Linked DNA regions of Homo sapiens: region 1 is linked to region 2. The links are contacts of gene promoters, found by promoter capture Hi-C in human tissues and cell types (Jung and others, 2019). All regions are on one chromosome and are shown on one strand. The core of a region is centred on a gene start or on the middle of the fragment in contact, and the rest is flanking DNA. Distances in the headings are between cores, read along the strand shown. Region 1 has its middle 44 kb from the start of DIRAS2. Region 2 holds the start of DIRAS2 (DIRAS family GTPase 2).

Evidence for each region. The method cuts DNA at HindIII sites, captures the fragments that hold promoters and counts their contacts. A contact is called where the count stands out against the background at its distance.
Region 1: a contact is called between a fragment that was not itself captured here and the fragment with the promoter of DIRAS2 in region 2, in 2 of the 25 tissues and cell types used here (mesenchymal stem cells and spleen).

The regions. Positions count from the first base shown.
Region 1 is chr9:90,685,902-90,688,738 of GRCh38, forward strand. No RefSeq gene overlaps it. Among named protein-coding and RNA genes, the nearest start is that of DIRAS2, 44 kb to the left of the region's middle. The HindIII fragment of the contact is 3,580 bases long and covers 1-2,837 here.
Region 2 is chr9:90,641,093-90,644,284 of GRCh38, forward strand. It overlaps DIRAS2 (DIRAS family GTPase 2), which reads right to left and starts at 1,732. Exons shown (of 2, transcript NM_017594.5): 1 at 1,660-1,732. RefSeq lists a silencer at 1,671-1,720. The HindIII fragment of the contact is 18,185 bases long and covers 1-3,192 here.

The DNA of each region.
Region 1 (2,837 bases), core at 167-2,666, 44 kb after region 2:
GTTTTCAACCATCAAGCACAAACTCCAATGTGCCTTAAGCCCAAGATGGAGTCAGCAACTCCCTTCAGTCATGCCAGCTGGAACTCAGGACCAGGCACAGAGCAATCACTTATCCTAATTGGGACTGCAGGCTGGTGAGGAGTGCAGATCACCTCCTGGTTTCTCCTTTTCTTCTTGCAACCAGGAAAATGCAATTAAAAAAAGATATTATACATCATAGACACTTTTGACTAAGAATGAGGGGAGACCAATCTCAGATTTAAAACCACTGGGGGAATCCAAATAGGTTATCAAATTCTGCTTCAGTATACATCATGTTTAAGCTTAAGAAAAATGTTTTTTTCCCTGAGTTAAAAATAAATATATTTGGTGGGGATGGAGCCAAGATGTCCAAATAGGAACAGCTCCAGTCTACAGCTCCCAGTGTGAGTGATGCAGAAGATGGGTGATTTCTGCATTTCCAACTGAGGTACCGGGTTCATCTCACTGGGGAATGCCGGACAGTGGGTACAGGACAGTGGGTACAGCGCACCGTGCGTGAGCCGAAGCAGGGCGAGGCATTGCCTTACCTGGGAAGTGCAAAGGGTCAGGGAATTCCCTTTCCTAGTCAAAGAAAGGGGTGATAGATGGCACCTGGAAAATAGGGTCACTCCCACCCTAATACTGTGCTTTTCCAATGGGCTTCACAAATGGCACACCAGGAGATTATATCCAGCACCTGGCTCGGAGGGTCCTACGCCCACAAAGCCTCACTCATTGCTAGCACAGCAGTCTGAGGTCAAACTGCAAGGTGGCAGCGAAGCTGGGGGAGTGGCGCCCACCATTGCCCAGGCTTCAGTAGCTAAACAGAGTGGCCAGGAAGCTTGAACTGGGTGGAGTCCACCACAGCTCAAGGAGGCCTGCCTGCCTCTGTAGGCTCCACCTCTGGGGGCAGGGCACAGACAAACAAAAGACAGAAATAACCTCTGCAAACTTAAATGTCCCTGTCTGACAGCTTTGAAGAGAGTAGTGGTTCTCCCAGCACGCAGCTTGAGATCTGAGAATGGGCAGACTGCCTCCTCAAGTGGGCCCCTGACCCCCAAGTTGCCTAACTGGGAGGCACCCCCAAGTAGGGGTAGACTGACACCTCACATGGCTGGGTACTCCTCTGACACAAAACTTCCAGAGGAAGGATCAAGCAGCAGCATTTGTGGTTCACTAATATCCACTGTTCTGCAGCCACCGCTGCTGACACTCAGGCAAACAGGGTCTGGAGTGGACCTCCAGTAAATTCCAACAGACCTGCAGCTGAGGGTCCTGACTGTTAGAAGGAAAACTAACAAACAGAAAGGACATCCATACCAAAAACCCATCTGTACGTCACCATCATCAAAGACCAAAGGTAGATAAAGCCACAAAGATGGGGAAAAAACAGAGCAGAAAAACCAGAAACTCTAAAAATCAGAGCACCTCTCCTCCTCCAAAGGAACGCAGCTCCTCACCAGCAACGGAACAAAGCTGGATGGAGAATGACTTTGATGAGTTGAGAGAAGAAGGCTTCAGAAGATCAAATTACTCCAAGCTAAAGGAGGAAGTTCGAACCAATGGCAAAGAAGTTAAGAACTTTGAAAAAAAATTAGATGAATGGATAACTAGAATAACCGATGCAGAGAAGTCCTTAAAGGACCTGATGGAGCTGAAAACCACTGCACGAGAACTACGTGACGAATGCACAAGCCTCAGTAACTGATGCAATCAACTGGAAGAAAGGGTATCAGCGATGGAAGATGAAATGAATGAAATGAAGCATGAAGAGAAGTTTAGAGAAAAAAGAATAAAAAGAAATGAACAAAGCCTCCAAGAAATATGGGACTCTGTGAAAAGACCAAATCTATGTCTAATTGGTGTACCTGAAAGTGACGGGGAGAATGGAACCAAGTTGGAAAATACTCTGCAGGATATTATCCAGGAGAACTTCCCCAATCTAGCAAGGCAGGCCAACATTCAAATTCAGGAAATACAGAGAACGCCACAAAGATACTCCTCGAGAAGAGCAACTCCAAGACACATAATTGTCAGATTCACCAAAGTTGAAATGAAGGAAAAAATGTTAAGGGCAGCCAGAGAGAAAGGTCAAGTTACCCACAAAGGGAAGCCCATCAGACTAACAGCTGATGTCTCAGCAGAAACTCTACAAGCCAGAAGAGAGTGGGGGCCAATATTCAACATTCTTAAAGAAAAGAGTTTTCAACCCAGAATTTCATATCCAGCCAAACAAAGCTTCATAAGTGAAGGAGAAATAAAATACTTTACAGACAAGCAAATGCTGAGAGATTTTGTCACCACCAGGCCTGCCCTAAAAGAGCTCCTGAAGGAAGCACTAAACATGGAAAGGAAAAATCGGTACAAGCCACTGCAAAAACATGCCAAATAGTAAAGACCATCAAGGCTAGGAAGAAGCTGCATCAATTAACGAGCAAAATAACCAGCTAACATCATAATGACAGGATCAAATTCACACATAACAATACTAACCTTAAATGTAAATGGGCTAAATGCTCCAATTAAAAGGCACAGACTAGCAAATTGGATAAAGAGTCAAGACCCATCTGTGTGCTGTATTCAGGAAACCCATCTTACATGCAGAGACACACATAGGCTCAAAATAAAGGGACAGAGGAAGATCTACCAAGCAAACGGAAAACAAAAAAAGGAAGGGGTTGCAATCCTAGTCTCAGATAAAACAGACTTTAAACCAACAAAGATCAAAAGAGACAAGGCCATTACATAATGGTAAAGGGATCAATTCAACAAGAAGAACTAACTATCCTAAATATATATGCACCCAATACAGGAGC
Region 2 (3,192 bases), core at 482-2,981:
CAATAAATAATTTTTTTAAAAAAAAGGTCTCCTCCACTCTTCTCATGAGGAAACTGCTTTGCTGAGAATGCTGGGTTGTTAGACACAAGCTGAAAAGTGACTTCCACAACTTGGCATTCAATCTGTATGTTTTCTGAGTCGCCTCTTAGGAACAATTCTATTAAAGCTGTAACAAAGAAAGATTCTGGAGGTTTCTACAATAACCATGAACACATACTTCCCATCTGCAGGGATCACTGAAGTGTGAGCAGCAGTTCTGTGCCTTGGTATAGACAGCAATACCCCCTCCTTTCTCCTTCCTTTCCCTGTGCTTGCCCGGGACTATTACCAAATTAAATGCCATATGTTAAATGGGATGAAAATGTTTCCTTGCCACTGTATCTTTTATTTCTATAAAATGAACTATGTGTCTTCCTGTCCCCAGCCCACAAAGCCTCCTGCATTTCCAGAGATAGATAAAATTGTGGACAATTTTCAATTTCAGACAACAACCAAGAAGAAAAAAAAGTATGATTCCCCTACAAATTTGTTAAATTTATTCTAATTTTATCCTCCCCTTTTCTCTCCCTCCCCCTCCACCTCCTCAAATCCAAATGTCACTGGAAATGGAGCACATTGTGACTGATTTGAAATGTAAAATGCTCCAGACTTTTAGCGTTACCTGGAAAATCTTCCTCAAAAATAATATTTTTGAAAATTTTTAGTTTGAAGCAGAAAAGTTCTGATATGCTGGACTAGCTTCTCACATCTGAAGGGATCCATTTAAAAGATAACGAGGGCAAATATGTAAAATAAATTCCTAGGGAAGGCAAGCTGTGTCTCTGCACAGTAGGAAGAAACTGAATTCCACCACAATGTTGTATTCCAGCATTCAATGGATGTAACAGATGATTCACAGAGCTTCTAGTTTAAAAGTCTCCCAAACCCACATAGAATGTGAATTGGAGTTTTAAAGAGGAAAAACAGCATTTTTCAAGAGAGAAGGAGAGAGGCAGGTTCCCACAACGCCAGAAGCCAGCACTGCTTTTCAGGCGAGCCTGGGAGCTGTCAGCAGTCATTGTCATCTGATGGGAAACCACAGTCTTACAACTAAGGACTGGATGCAGCCCCTTGCCCATCTTCTGCTCTTACAACAAGGAAGCGGAAAGGAGCACATGTAGATATCATGAAACACATTCTTTAAGAAGACAAACAAAAGATTTAGACAGGTCTCGGCCAAGCGCATGAAGTGAAGGAGTCGAGGATGAAAGCATGCCGAACCAAACGGCAGTCCCTAGCGTGCTTGGCTTTTTTCTCACTTTAGACCACATCTTCTTACTCTTTTCCTAAATCCATTAAACTTCCACATTAACAGAAACACCTGCACAGTAGAATTTTCCAAAACGGTAAATCCTGTTTTGGAAGGAATCCCTAATAATACGTAAGATACAGATTTTTAAAAAAGAACATGTTTTAGACAAGGACAGCATGATGCTCACCCTCCCTAACAAGGATACAGAAATGCAGATTTCTTCCCCTCTTACCAACTCCAGTACACGCTGACTCGCCCTCCCTGAGAGCGGTAATCCCTTTCCAGGGGCTGGCAAACAATCATGCCAAAGCCGCCCGTGCCCCAATGCGGACGCAGCGAAGCCACGGCAGAAGGGGGAAATCGGTTACCTGGGGAAGAACACAACTCCGCTCAGAGCTTCTTCAGAGCTCCACTCGCGCAGGACAGGGCAGCGCAGGGTGTGTGGATGCGGCTCCTCCCGGAGGCAGGCGCAGCGCACTCCCTCCCGCCGCCGTGACGATGCTGTCAGCTGCTCGCCCGCCGTGCGCCCTGCACCGCCCACCGGCCGTGCTCCCTGCGCCCAGCGCCCTCGCGCTCCACCCGCTCGCAGCCCCTGCACCTGCGCTGGCCTGAGCCGCTCCGGCCTGGCACTGTCACCGCCGCTGCACGCTCCTCCTACTCTCTTCAATCTCTGCCTTCTCAGATGTGCCAACTGCTGCAGAGGCTGCTGCTCCTGCTTAAATGGCGCCTGTTCGCCTCCAAAGAGCTTTTAGGTGCCACCTACTGCATGCTCTTGGAATAGATGGCGAGGACTGGAATTTTCTGATAATTTAATGAATTAAAATAATTCCATTGAAAGGGAACCAGATTCTTTTGTTCGCATTGCGAACTATAATCGCTACTAACCATATAGACTTTTTTTTTCCATTTCCAGATTTTAACTTTTAAAAACCGACTCATTTAAAGGCAGACGAAATGCCCTGCCCCATACCATAGCCAACCACACAGTGTAGATTAATATATTCTAATTTAATAGGATCCTATGACAACACCGCCATTGGCAAGCTTGGATTAGAATTGCTTTTTCACTGAGTGGTTTCACATTAGCATTTCAAGCAAATGACCACGTTTATTTCCTGACATTGATAAACAATTTTGTCAAAGACGCGTTGATTAAAAAACAGGTGAATCAGCAAGAAAAAATATTAATGGCTAACAATTCTGTGCAGGCATTTTTAAAAGTGCTTGAGCATAACATTGATCCATGTTAAGTTTAAACTACAGACTGAAGGAAGATTTCTTCTCTTGGTTATATTACTCATTCTTTTGTAATACCAAATATGCTAAAAGACTTGAGCAAAATTAATATTCTGTAGTTCTTTACATTTGATTTTTGTTGTAGAATCCTATTTATCTGTTTTAATCCCGTCTTCACTTTCTAAATAATTAAAACATGTTAACCTTTGAAGTTCATTTCCATAGTAAAATTCTGCCCTGCTATTCACAGGAAATATGCTTTTTAAAAATCATACTTAAAAACTACGCATTTTACAACTTATAGTCAAGAAAACTTATTTTATTCCCCAGTTCATCCTAATTCTGGCCTTGATCCTACAGCCATTGGAATATAAAAATAAAAATACACTCTTTTTACTAAAGTCATTTAAGGCTACTTCAACAAACCTGCCCCTACACTAATGATGTCTAAAAGCAGAGTGGTCACCCTGTCCTCCACAGTCTCCTCTTCATTGCAAAGGAATATATGGCCACTCAGAAACCCATCCCAGAGGAGGCTCCAAATATGATGACAGTGGATTCTGAGCACTGCCTGATGCAGTTTCTGGGTCCTGAAACAACCTTCCAGTTTTATAAGTCAGGATGTTGTTTTCCATGACAACCAAAATGTAGGTTATCAGGTTAAA